2 separate regions of the Homo sapiens genome follow, and region 1 is linked to region 2. Evidence: promoter capture Hi-C in human tissues and cell types (Jung and others, 2019). All regions are on one chromosome and are shown on one strand. The core of a region is centred on a gene start or on the middle of the fragment in contact, and the rest is flanking DNA. Distances in the headings are between cores, read along the strand shown. Region 1 overlaps TLE3 (TLE family member 3, transcriptional corepressor). Region 2 holds the start of UACA (uveal autoantigen with coiled-coil domains and ankyrin repeats).

The links. The method cuts DNA at HindIII sites, captures the fragments that hold promoters and counts their contacts. A contact is called where the count stands out against the background at its distance.
Region 1: a fragment that was not itself captured here is called in contact with the fragment with the promoter of UACA in region 2 in 1 of the 25 tissues and cell types used here (H1 embryonic stem cells).

What each region holds. Positions count from the first base shown.
Region 1 is chr15:70,087,135-70,094,308 of GRCh38, forward strand. The region is part of intron 4 of TLE3 (TLE family member 3, transcriptional corepressor); the gene reads right to left. Among named protein-coding and RNA genes, the nearest start is that of TLE3, 7.2 kb to the right of the region's middle. RefSeq lists an enhancer at 1,508-2,095. The HindIII fragment of the contact is 4,549 bases long and covers 42-4,590 here.
Region 2 is chr15:70,760,015-70,767,081 of GRCh38, forward strand. UACA (uveal autoantigen with coiled-coil domains and ankyrin repeats) reads right to left here and starts at 3,544. Exons shown (of 19, transcript NM_018003.4): 1 at 3,316-3,544. The coding sequence starts at 3,393. RefSeq lists a silencer at 3,309-3,718. The HindIII fragment of the contact is 5,114 bases long and covers 451-5,564 here.

The DNA of each region.
Region 1 (7,174 bases), core at 1,066-3,565, 670 kb before region 2:
CACTGTGTATCCAGTATGGGCCAGGCACTGCTCAGGGTTCAGGACCCTTAGTGAAAACAAATACAAAATGGTCCTGTCCCTCACGGAACTCACAGTCCTGTCACAGCACAGGCCTCACCTCCCCAACCCCAATTTGAGAACACAGCCCTCTAGTACACAGGTCATCTTCACACCCCAAGCTTTCAGGGTATGCTCTGATGCTTTTATCCTGGTGTCTGTCTGTCCTGGACCCAAATACCCATTATTTTAGCTGCTAAGATGAAAATGTCGAATCTGCTTTGCAATCAAGTGCTACAGAAATTCTAAGAGGCCGTAGCATTATAATCTATAATATCTGGAAGATCAAATTTTTCAAACAGTTTGTCCTCTGGAAAGTACTTCCCCTGGGATTATTTGGTGGTGGCAGCAGCCAGAACACTGGATCCTATCCTTCACACAGTGGGTGATGGAAGGAACCACCTAAGACACACGAGCCAAGCCCATCCATGCTCCTACCCTTTACCAAGAGCAGCCAGCCTGGGAGAGAACAGGACAACATAGACTTCAGGCCCCAACAGGGTTTCCCTGGCCTCTCAGGCCCCACAGATGGGAAGTTGCTTCTCTCTTCTCCCTTCACAGGACACATTGGCAATGGGAGGCTTTGGTGACAGAGAGGCAAAGGAAACCTCTTCCAAAGGACTGCATTTTCAAAGCAATAATGAAGTCGGCTGGTGTGAAGGGGAGAAAAGTATTTGTTCTCAGATAAAATCTGCCGGGTGGACTAGCCGGGCCCCCTGGTTAACCCTCCAAGCCTGGTGTGAACCTGTACTTAAGAATACAAGTCCTTGCCCCACCCACCCTGTTGATTTCCAGACGGGCCTCTTGGGCCATCAACTCTGCAGCAAACAGCCTCCTAGAATCTGATTCCTTAGCGGTCATGGCCTGACTCTCCAACACGGTGACCCCTCTCCTCCAGCCCTCCCCCAAAAGGTGGCCTCTGCCTAAACATTCACAGTGACAGCTCTGCAGCCCACTGATTGTGCAACATCCTTAGCAAAGAAAAGAATTCAAAATCAATGCTGATGCGAATTCAGACTCTCCCATTACCTCCTTGAGAAACGCAAGGTCCTAAGGACCCTCAGTAGGGCAAGGCTGACCCACAGCTTGCTGCCTGCAAAGGACGATGCTTCAAAACAACAAACCCACCAAATATTCCCCGCTTACATGGCGGCAGGACGTTTCCCCCTTCCTTAAGTTTCTCCTTAACCCCAACTTGAAGGGAACAATTATTTTATAAAGAATTTTTTTTAAATATGTATTTTGAAGGAGAAGAGAAAGCCAAAAGAAGAAAGGAAAAGGAAAAAGGAAGAAAGCATCTTGGCTGTGAGTCTCAGAGAGCATTTGTTGAAAACAAGATATTGTCCCTTTAAGCATATAAAAACAAGGCCCTTGAGCACGCAGTTCTCACTCTGGTACACAATTATGGGTGCTTTCAGCTGTCTAGCACTACTTCAAGTGCTCTCTTAAACCAGACTGTCAATGGCATGTTGAAAGCTATTTTGCTGGCTGCTATCATTAATAGCAAAGTGGAGAGCTGGGCTGATGAGAATTAAATATGGGGGAGGGGGCGGGTCATAACCAGTCATTACAGAATTACCAATATGAGAAAGGAGACAATGCCACTTTGGGGAATAAAGTTCAAAGCAGCATATTACGGTAGGAAAGCAGGCAGAGCAGGCCACAAACGGCCCAGAGCGGGCCCCCGCCCCCGCCCCCACCCCCACCCCGCGGCAGATGGACTCAGGCCAGCCCTGGAGAGCCAGCCATGCAGGGATGCAGGGAGCCACCGGGTGGGGAGCCGCGACTGCAAGGGCAGAGGGGCCTTGGAGATCGCTCTGCTGCAAAATGTCACCACCTCGCCTCACTTCCCAAGTGCAGTCCCCGCCCCACATCATTCCGAAGACGTGTGGCTTCTAGAACATATCTCACTGCCTTGCCGCGAGCTGTTGCCACCCTGGAGGGGCCTCGGCTGCCGACTTCTGCCTCATAAACCCTACCCTCCCTTTCAGACTCGCGCCAAGCAAAGCCCTCAGTGAAGTCTGCTCTCACCCAAGAAGAATAAGCTGTTCTGTGCTGGGTGCTCCTCCTATGACACTTGGGCCACATTAGCACTTACCTCACTGCATTGCAATTACTTCTTTAGACATCCGACTCCCCCGCAGAGGGAATGGTGTCTTATTCGGCTGTGTAACCAACCCCAGCCCACACCCAGCACATCCCAGTCCCCTAATAACTGCTTTGGGAATGAATCCAACCCCCTCATTTCACTGATGAAGAAACTGGATGCTGGGCCATAGGAGGAAGCCTGCAGAGCGGGCGGCCAGCCCACAACTAAAATCCCCACTTCCTACTCACAGGGCTCAGGGAATCGGAACTCTACTCTCAGATAACCTGAGTAAATTTTGAAGAAAAACCAAGATGTTTACTGAGCACCTATTACATACTAAGTGCTATAGAGACCTCAGCAGAGGGGCTTCCTTCATACCTACAAAAATGAGACGAGGAATGAGTGCCAGATCACAGGGGAAAACACTGCCAAGCTTAGGTCTTTGTCACGTTTTTGCCCCTGGTGTCCCAGTATTTTGTACAAACAATGAGACAGAATGACATTCTCCCACGTAGAAAGCAAAAGGAGATTTATTCCTTGACTGACTCACTCCTTCAACAAAATGGAAACAAACAGCCTAGGTGGGAAGGAGGAGTTCAAGGAAAGGAAGAACTCCGTGTCTGCCACGGGCTCCTGGTCCAAGAGAGTTCAGAGAATGAGTCCCGAATTAGGAGCCAGGTTCCCACCCGTTGATCTGTAAAGTAAGGACAAGGGGCCATTTGCTCATCTCCCAGGGTCATTTCAATGACAAATGCACAAGAAGGAAAAGACCCCAAAAGCACTGAAACCCCCACTCTACCACTCCCACTGGCAACTAGAGAAAAGGGGTCCAAAGGCAGTCTTGAGGGGTGGGGCAACCTCCCTCTAGCTAGACAGCATGCAGGGAGCTTGGAGCCCAGCAGACCCCAAAGCTGAGCGAGGCAGGCACCCACTCAGTGAGAGGACTCGTGATTACAGTCTGTTCCAGGGAAGATCAATATAGCAGGAAAAGTCAAGACAGATACCAGGGCATGGGGCCGGGTGGGAGGGTTCTTGGATGCTAGCACTCTGGCAAAAAAGAAAAAAAAAATTTCACAGCTCAACTCAGATGCCACACAAATAGGCACTTCCCTAGTCTAAGGACCTTTGACCCCTTCTACTTTGCAAGTGGTCCCACATTCTCCTATCAAGATAGGCTCAACTCCTTGGCAGAGTCCTTTGTAACCTCATTGCCTGGTAGCTCCCTCTGGCCACCTGTACCTTGCACCTTCACCGTGGTCACAAAACTTCTGTGTGCCTCAAGATCTTCCAGGTGAGCCCCTTATCATTTAGATGAGAAGATCCAGAGCGGGGAGGGGAGGGGAGTGACAAATGGGGATTTTCCATTTCCTACCTCAGCCCTGTGTTTATGGCACCCCATGGCTAGGGTAAAAAGTTCACAGGTTATATATACCACCTTTCCCGGTCTGTGAATCTTTCCTCTGGGATTGCTAGTTATGCATTATGTATTATTATTACACACATCAAATCATTAGTTGTGCAAATAGCTGGCAATTCAAAACAGGACTGTGGACAATAAGGGTTCAGTGATATGATTATACAACCCGAAATGGGGCACTTTGGACTTTGGTGGGGCCAGTTTTGTAGCCTTAGCCTGTTTGGATAATAACACAGAAAGAAGCAATAGTAATTAAAGACACAGAATACACTAGAAAAGGAGCACTCTTCATTTCTTGAGTCTTACAGAAAAGAGTCCTGGGTTGGAAGGGAAGCAGCAGTAGCAGCTTTACCACTAACGTGGGACTGTATGACTGAGTACATAAGCTTCCCTTCTCTGGGCCACCGTTTCCTCATCTGTAACTTGAAAAGTTTGCATGAGAAGCCAAAGGGCTCTTCCAGTTCCAAGATTCAAAGAGAAACTTACAGGAAAGGTTGTTCAGTTCACAGAAAAAGGTGACTGTATTGTGTCGGCACGACACTGCCCCAAAATCAAAATGGCTCAAGTCCACTTTCAAAAATGTCAGTGCTCACCAACAGTGGGTGAAAAGGCTGCCTGACCCAGCTTCTCAGAGAGCCAGTGCCTCAAATCCAATGCATGGCAATTGCTCTGGGGCCCCTGGTTTTAAGCTGGCTTTGTTATTTGTGGCTGACACTGGAAAGCCTCTGCACAAACAAGATGGCAAGTGATGAGCCGGTCAGTCATCACTGCCTTCCCAGACTCTCTGAACCACCCTTGACATTCTGCCTGGAAGCAGGGGGCTTGGTGGAGGTGGGTGACCTCTTGAAGTCCCGGGCCAGGCCTGTGATTCTGTAATCTTTGCTTTACCATAATTAGGGAGGGAGGCAGAAGAGCAGGAGGAGAAACCATTTATTACTTCTCTGGGATTTTGACAGCTTGGAAAAAGAGAGAGACAGAGAAACAGCCAGAGAAGGAGCCAGCCACAGTGAGTTTAACCTCTCAGTAAAATAAAAATGGGCTGGACGCACCTCATCAGCTGCCCTCTGTCAATACCCGGGCCCATCTGGCAGGACTCGAGGTTCCCAGCTAATTGGCATTTCCCATAGAGCCAGCAAAGGAGAGCTTTTAAAAAAAATATGTGGTGGTGATGGTGGAGTGCGTGTGCGTGTATGCGCGCAGGCTGAGGACTGCCACACTTCCCAAGGTGCTAGCTCTATAGATCATCTATTATATAAAAGTACAGACAGTCCCCACCCCCACCCCAGCTTAAAGATGAAGAATCCAGCCTGTTTGTTCCAGGCAGATGTAATCACACGAACAGTCAAGTCTAGAGGGCAGGACACTGCATGAATAATTCAAGCACTCCAGTCACTTGATTGTGTGTGCCGATAAAACACCAGTCAACCGCTAAACAGGTCAGCTGATAAACTTGTTTGCTCAGGCCTAACCACCATTCGCCAAATGCACCCAAGACCCACACTACAATTAGTGGCAGGGCTTTCTTCTACAGAACCCTTGCAAACCTAGGGAGTGGCCAGCTCCATTAGATCAGGGTTGCATTTCACGGCACAGGTTTCTTCACCTCCTTGCCTCTTTGTTCCTCCACAGCCACAGGGTGATTTCACCCAACTCAGAGACTGCCATAAGCTTGCAAAGCCACTGCATTCAGAGCACACATGTTCAGGCTGGGAACTCAGGCTAGAGGGCAAAGGTGAGTGGCAAGCAAGGTAAAGTGCCCAGTGGGGAAGCCAGAGGGCTGGATTTGAATCCCAGCTCTGCCCTCCTGGCCTCCCTGAAGCCTCAGTTTCCTCACCTATAAACAGGGGGCAAAGAATGCCTCTATCCACCACTGGCAGCTGAGAGGATTAAATGAGACAACGTAGCCAAACCCCAGGCATTCTCCCCTTAAGAACCTTGTTTGGGGAATGGCCAGAAATCCCAGATGTACACAGCTGCTCTTTATATAAACCCCACCACCAAATGCGTTAAGATATTTAACTCTTCCTGCGTTCACAGCATCCCCAGGACTCACAGAACAGATCTGCTGCGAGCCAAGGTGGATTCTTAGTGCCAAAGCACCATTCATTCACAGACATGCGGAACACCACCCATGCAGACCTCAACATGCAACGAGACATTACACCTTAATTACCAAGCTCTTCCAATAACTGCTGCTATAAATTTTAAACCTGGGTGCAATTACCCTCTTTAAACACACCCAAGATACTATTTGAGAAAAAAAAAATTAAGACAGGGCAGACAAAGGGAGGAAGTGGCACCCTGCATACACCCCAAGGTCCTTGAAACACCTGGGCCCCCAGTTCCATTTCAAGCATTCTTCCGGGACCTGGCCCCTTCCAGTTGCAGAACCTGTCTCTATTCTATTTTTCCAAGGAGAAATATCTTTACGTATAAAGCCCTGTCTATTATTTCTGTGTGTCAAGAAGTAAAAACATGGTAGCCTTCATGTGCCTTCCTAAGGGACTAACTAATCCCTCAGGAAGCCACAAGCTGGCTTCCCACACATTGCTCAATAAACTCAGGCCCCTTTCTGGCTTCCCTTCACCCAACACTGGGGGCTCCCTCCAGGAGGGGAAAGGAAACTACAGATCCCAAAGGCTCTATAGGAAGCCACCCGAGTGGGTAGGAATCTGCCCACTTTCCAGGGTCACCTGCCCTTCTCACCTGCCCTGGGTCCTGCCTCCTTAAAGAGCAAAATTGAAACCTTGTAAACGACTGTTAATTTAGAGCAGAAAATCCATTCAAGTCACGGTCACCAAAGGCTAGAATGAGTCAACAGCCTTCTGAGATTTCATGAACACCAATTGTTAAAAAGAACAACCGGCCTGCCTGCTCCATTTATACGTGCCAAGTCAACTCTAAACGTTGGCCAAGCCAAATTATAGGCAGCCTTTCCTCAGAACACAAATACACAAACAGGCCTCTCCCACAGCCCAGCCTAGCACTGGGACTAGTTACTGATATGCACTGAGATAAAGGGTGTTTGTATTTGCTCGGTTTGAGGTATACTGTTATTAGAAGAGTGACAATACCAGGTAGTTTACATATCCATCAAACGACACCACACTAGCTAAACTGGTTTGACTTCAGGATTTCAAAGCTGAGCTCAACCCCCAGCCATCTCGAAAGTCCTGGCTAGGCTGCCCCTGGGCAAGTTACTTCACCCAGGAGCTTCAGCTTCCTTCTCTGTAAAATGGGAACTCGGCTGCCTTCAAATCAAGACAGGGATGAGAAAGCCACCTTGTCAATGCAAGGCACTGAAGTTGTATTTCATTCTGGCTTCATATTTTTAAGCAGTTAGTGGCTTCGTTCCCTTAAATTTCGACAGCTCAGCCTGGCTTTTAAGGTTCTTGAAGTTTAATCTTATCAAGGCAGAACATCACATTTCTGCAAAAAGAAAAAAAAAAGGAGAAAGAAAAAAAAAATCCTCCTGCATTTCCTCTTGAGAATTTTACATTAAAACAGATAAAAGCAGCCAGCCACCTCTGGGCTTTCAGGAGTTTGTAAAGCAGATCCTGGAGGTACAACTTTCCCTTTGGTCCTTTATCCTCCACCGAGATCCAAGACCA
Region 2 (7,067 bases), core at 2,294-4,793:
TAATAAGCTTAAATACACAAAGGAAATTATTTATGAAATAAACATTTTAAAATTTTATCTCAAATCAAAGTTGTGCAAAGTAAATAGTGACTATTTCCAAAATAATTAAATGAACAGTTTAAGACCCAAATTAAGTACCCATAGAGGAAAGAGAAGAAAGTAAGATGTACTTTAACACCATAATAAGTATCTTATGTATCAAAGACTTAAATGTAAAAAAAGAAAAAAAACTAGAAGAAAGTTGGGGAGGGGGGTTGTTTAATATTAAATATCGCAGAGTGGAAAGGCCAAGATATTACATAAACCTAAAAATCATAAAAGGTTATAAATTCAATTGTATAAAAATAACCACCTTCTCTGCACAGCAAATGCCACCATAAAAATGTCTTAAGACAAACAGCCAATTAAGAAATAATATTATTCAAATGAAAAGGGCTAATTTCCCTGATATAAAGTATATACAAATGAATAGGGAAAAATATCGACAACCCAATAGAAAAATGGAAAGGACAGGCCAGGCGCAGTGGCTCACGCCTGTAATCCCAGCACTTTGGGAGGCCGAGGCGGGTGGATCACAAGGTCAAGAGATTGAGACCATCCTGGACAACATGGTGAAACCCTGTCTCTACTAAAAATACAAAAATTAGCCTGGCGTGGTGGTGCACGCCTGTAGTCCCAGCTACTCAGGAGGCTGAGGCAGGAGAATCACTTGAACCTGGGAGGCGGAGGTTGCAATGAGCCAAGATGGTCCCATTGCACTCCAGCCTGGCGACCGAGCGAGACTCCGTCTCAAAAAAAAAAAAAAAACAGAAAAAGAAAAATGGAAAGGATAAACTGTTCTTACCTATCAGGCTAGCAAAGGTCAAAAACTTTGAACAGACTTCTATTAAAAGCTTGGAAAACATTTCTCATATGCTGGTTCCATGATGCATGAAAGGAAACTTGACAACATCCTTCAAAATTACAAATGCACATATCCTTTAACCCAGCAATTCACTTTTAGGAATTAATCCTACAGGTACAGACACACACTTGAAATATGAATATTAATCACAGAATTGTACATTACAGCAAAAGATATGAATGGGGAGCCTCTATTTACAGTTTTAAAAAAAAAAGTCCAAGATATGAAACAGCAGCTACAGTGTGCTAGCATTTCTATAAAGGGTGACTATATTCATATTTGCTTGTATATGCTAAGCTCTCTCTGGAGGAACATGCAAGCAACTGTATCATCAGTGGCCTCAGGAAGTGGGGGCAGGGTGGCTGAAGCAGGGGTTAGGGAAACACGGTGTCGATATTTTGTTGTAAATATTTTTATTCCTTTCCAATATTAAACCATGTGCTATATTACCTATTCAAAAAATAACTGTTTTTAAAGGCAAAAAGAAAAAAAAAAAGGGTGGCCCAATCATACAATAAATACATATACATGTGACCAAATCTGGGATTATGGTTTATAGATTGAAAAGCAGAAAGGGTCTATTTCTCCTGTACATGTGTTTTATTCTATCAATGCTTGGTTTGGTTTTATTCATCACTACAGTTTTATTTTAAAATTTTACAGAATTCATTCTAAGTTTTATTCCTCATTACGCTTTTATTTTTAAATTGTACAGAACTTATTCTAATATTTAAACAGAAATGTTTGCTTTTTCTACATAAATAGGTTAATATCATGTTTATCTTTATTATGTCATTTTGAGAAAAATAGAACGCTCAATTGAGTGCTAAAGATTTAAGCTCAGAGATATGCACTTTATGTTCCAAATGTATAAAATGCAAACTATCATGCTGATAATACCTACTAAATACTCTGCATTTCTAGAAAACTGGATAAAATTAAGGCATATAAACCTCCAAGTGGGATTTACATCCTTAGTGCAAATCAAACACAACCAGGGAAAACAAAGCTAATAAATCTAGAAACTTGTATCTTCTATAAGGCTAAAAACACAACTTGCATTACAGAAGTAGAATCTTAACTGTAATGAACTCCAATATCACTAAATGACATTTCTGCCAGTTACTTTTTTTAAAAAAAAAAGTGAAACAAAGTAATCTCTGTTTTCCATGAGCTTATAAAACGACTTCATGCTTTATCAAAGAACATCAATTACGTCATCTGAATCTACTCTCTTTTTTTGAAATAGGAATTTAAGTCTAGGTAGTTCCTCCACAATTTCCTTTATGTCCAAGTAAAATAATCCTCGATATAGGTGGAGAGAAAGGCATAACTGAATTAACTCAAAAAAGCAGAAGCAGATTAATTAGTATTCTGATAAAAAGAATATAATCATTTGGTAAAATCTGCGTTGAATTGTAAAGGTTCATTTTAATTACCCCAACTAGGTAACTGTGCAGTTGGAGCATAACAACTCCTTTACGTTCGACTCTTCCAAGACTTTGTAAGTGGCACTTATTTTAATGATATAGAATTTTGATGATATCGCCATTCTTGTAACGTGACAAATTATCTAAATCACAACATCTGCGGTCAGGCTGTTTCTCAAGATTTCTGTTCTCCTGCCAACTAAAGAGGCCCCGACTACTCCTTGGCGCGCACACTGAGGCCGCGCTGCAGGTCAGCACCGAAAGAGCCCCGCACGGATCCCGCCCCACAGGTGCGATTTACACAACCCACATCACCACCACCCCTCCCAACTTCACCACCTCTAGGGTCACCACCCTGTGGGGTTTTGTCTTTACGACTAAGCCGATTCCCTCTGCCTCGCTGGGGAATCAAACTTCCCAGTGACAACGACAGCGGCCAGCACGGGACGTCCACCAGCCCGGCAGGGCTTGACGCTGTCTCAGACCCGGGGAAGGTCCGGAGTCCGGGCACGGTGGCGCGGGGTGCGCAGCCCTGCCCACCTGCCCTACCTGGTGCGAGCCCCGGCCCCGGGGACTGGGGAGCCAACACGGCCGAGCGGGCGTGGGCAGCAGGGCGAGCGCCGGGAGAGGAGAGCGACGAGGGGGGGTCAACGGAAAGAGCGGAGTAGGGGTGCCAATCGAGGAACTTTGGATTTAGGAGGAGGGGGCCAGAACCGCCCCACTGAGGTTTCTTCCAGAAGTTCGGAGGCTTGGGAGAAAGGGGTGGGGAAGAGACCCGTAGAGGCTCGGGTGCGGCGGCGGGGAGGATCCCCGGGGTCTCTGGGCTGACGGAGTCTCCGGCCTCAGGGAGGAGTCGCCAGGGCCGCCGAAGCCGAACTGGCAGAGGAAAAGCAGAGGAAGGCGGCGCGCGAACTCGCCAGCAAAGGAGGGCTGCGCTGCTCCCGGAGCGGAGCGCCTCGCAGCCCGGACCGCGGGACTCACCGCGCTGGCGGCGGCGGCGCCAGACGACGCGGGGCCGGGCACGTCCTGCCTCCTCAGGCGGGACTTGAGGCTCTTCATGGCTAACTCTTGCCTGGCCCCCGCGCGAACCTTAAAGGCTGCGGAGTGCCAGCGCGCAAGGAGTAGACGGCAGCGGCTGCAGCAGAGGCGGCGCGGGCTGTACCAGCCCCACCTGCCTGCCACCTGCGGGCCCCGGGCAGCAGACGTCGACAGGCCTGAGGCGGGGCTCCCCTCCCGTAGCCAATTGACCCGCTGCCCTGGCGGGGGCGTGGCAAACCGCGACCAATCGGAATGCGGGAATGGGGCGGGACTTCCCTTTTAAACTGAGTAACACCCTTCCTCTCCCAGCTGGAGGAAAAGTTTGGGAACTTTAGCCCGGGAAGGGGCGGAGGAGGTGGGCGGCCAGAGGCGTGGAGATGCGCGCAGGCCGGGCTCCAGGCCACCGGCGCCCGCCCACCCGGAGCTTAAGATCTAGAGAGAGCACGGGGTCCCGCCTTTGCCACCTCTCATCTTCCCGGACTCCCCTCCTCTTTCCACCCACGCGCTCTTTACCAAGTAAAGTTCCTTCCCTTCCGTCTGGTCTTAGAAATGACTCTTGGTTACCTGCACACAGAACAGCTTTCAGGAGCAACTTCTTTTCAGTCTCCTGTTTTACTACCAAATCCTGGTGCCTGGAAACCACCACACGCATCAAAAATTCCAGAAATAAACAGTCTCTAAGAAATAAGGTGCTGATTGTGCAGAAAAACGTACAGTTAAGAAAGACCTTGAAAGACGTTATAGTAAGTTACAGTACAAGTTACGTGCTCGTTTATTTGTTGAGTGAAGAATCCGCCGTATTGGAAGCAAAGGGACGGAATGGGGGCGGGGAGGGAGGAGAAGAGGTGCCATCAATTAAAAATGACTCCCACAGCCAGTGATTTAAGTTGTCAAAAAAAGTTACGCCCTTTTTTCTTCAAAAAGGTTTTTTGTTTTCTGTAGAAACACATTACATGTAAACGTATACGATGAAGTTAAATCATCTTACCTAGAAATCTGGGTTAGTAAAAATTATTTAAGAGGATGAAGAAACAGGAAGGTGCTCAGCACCCAATAATTTGCTGTTCGGGTGACATCTTCAAAAGTCTTCTTTGGAGTCATTTTTCCCCCCAGCAAAACGTTTATCGTAGCATGCATCCATTTGAAAAGACAAACGGTCCACATTTTCTGACTAACAAAGGACTCTTTTTTGTCTGAAAGGTCAGTTGCTCTCTTTAGAGTTTCTTTATAGTAACGCAAGGTTTTCTTCAAATACTGTAAGAAAGTTTTCAGAATTTCTTGGAGAGGCAGCATTCAAAGACTGTGTTAACCCTATACAACAAGTAAATAACAACTAACTACCCAAAAATATTATTAAATTTCATCTTGATTAGATCTTTGGAAGAAAATTTTCTTTGATTCCTCCCCCTTCCTCTAGATCTCCAGTCATTTAGTTCTTGTTGGCTCTTTAAAGTGTCTGTGTATGGTCAGTTACTCTGTTCTCACTGCCACTGCAGAGCCAAAATTACCTCATACCCGGACTATTATTACAGAAGCTTCCCAGCCAGTCTCCCAACCTTCAGTCTCTTAATTGTCCCATCACCAATAAATTATCAGCCATCATCAATAAGTCTTACAAAAATACTCCTCTTGCTCAAAAGCCTTCAGCAGCTAACGAATAAAATCTAATTCTTTGCATTTAAAGCTGTATAACGTGGACGCGACCCTGTTCTCTAGCCAACACCCCAAGCGAATTACTCTTCAGCCCATTCTCCAAACATGGGTCATGGCTTTCAACTTCCACATCTTTATGCATACTGATCCCTCCCCCAATAATCTTCTGTCTGTCTACATTCATCTCAGAAAATCCTACTCCCCCAAGAGTGATTGGTAGGGGATGTCGGGGGCTTCTGGAATACTGTACTATTCTCTGTGGGTGCTGGTTACATATCTAGTGTTTTCAGATTGTGAAAATTCAATGAGCCTGTACTGTATGCAATATATTCTCTTTTATGTGTGTGTTATGCTTTAACAAAAAGTTTGTTTTTAAGTGTATGTCCCTTCCAAGTGCCCTCCTCTCTATAGAACCTTCCCTGATCAAGTAACTGGAAGTGATCTCTCCATCCTCCAAATAGTTACAGCAATTATACCTCTCATATGATACTAACACATATGAGCTGAGCAAACCTTATTTCATTACTGGACTTCAATTTACTTAAAATTGGGGAATAACTGACATATATTTGAATTCCCTAGAATGCTTAGCATGTTATAGGTGTTTAATAAATATTTCTGAATGAATTGATGCATTCTTATTGACTACTATAGCAAATTATGGTTGTTTGTTCTATGTATTTATGTGACACAGGATTGGGATTCCCCCTATTGTGAACACAGATGGAATGATCTGAGGCTATGGTCCTGCTCAAATATTTGTGTCTCAATCAACTCCTTTCTCTGGGCTTAAGATAAGCACCCATTTACCATCTAGTCCTCTGACTGAATCTTAAATGTTAATTGCTTACAAGAGCACTGTCTCAGTAATTGGCTCTTGAGTTATTAATTGCAGTGTTATGTTGTACTGGTTGTCTCCTGTAACATCCAAGTTATCATAGTCCTGGTGACTGGCCTCCTTTTCTGTTGTTACTGGATAAAGCAAAGGAAACAGACAGAACCACAAGTATAGCTTGCATCAGGTTCCAAAAATGTTGGGCAAGTTATTTTTATGAACTGTCTGGATGATGTCCCCATGGTGTCTGTGTCCAGTGGCCTTTATGGATTTTTCCAGCCTAGAAACTTGATAGCTGATGTCTGCTTATTCCCATTTGAGAGCAGCTAAGTAAATAGCACTGGTCTGAATATTCAGTAAAGCTTTTTTACATTGATCTGGAAGCTGCCTATATGAAGTAAAGTCACTATTATTAGCATTCAACCAGACAGGTTGGGTTTTATTTTGTTAACTCTTATCACTATTATTTATTTTTATCTTCCCTTCAGAGCAAAGGGCACTTATCAAACCTAGATGACCTTTTGTTTGTTATCACACTGAGCCTATATAAAATATTTTTTTGTTTTACTTCTTTTTTTTTTCCAATATTTATTTATTTACAATATATACCAGGAAGGGTAATGCATTTTTTAAAATTACTTTACTAGATTATATATACACATGGTAATCTCAAATAATACAAATGGAGCAAGTTGATCTGCTTACCACCCCTATTTTGATCCCTGCTGTCAAGGAACTTGTGTTCTGGATTAGATAACAAATGTGTAAGCTGTATGCTAACACATACAGTTTAACTGGACAATCGCTTACTGAATCGTGTAGTAAGATTGCAGATGGTATTTAGGGAAGGAAAAGATCAACAGATAAGTTTGCCTGAAGGGAGGCTATCCAAGGTTGAGTATCCATTCAATGAATACCAACAGGTGAGAAGTAATACCAGATGGGCAGAGGATACCCAGGGGACCTGCCAGAACAGGGAAGAGAACACAGTCGACAGATGCTCACTGATAACTCAGATGATGATAACGGCAAAAACGATGACAAATATGATTTCTCAGAAGAAGAATAAAGAATCCACACAGAGGGCCGGGCACAGTGGCTCACACCTGTAATCCCAGCACTTTGGAAGGCCGAGGCGGGTGGATCACGGGGTCAGGAGATCGAGACAATCCTGGCTAATATGGTGAAACCCCGTCTCCACTAAAAA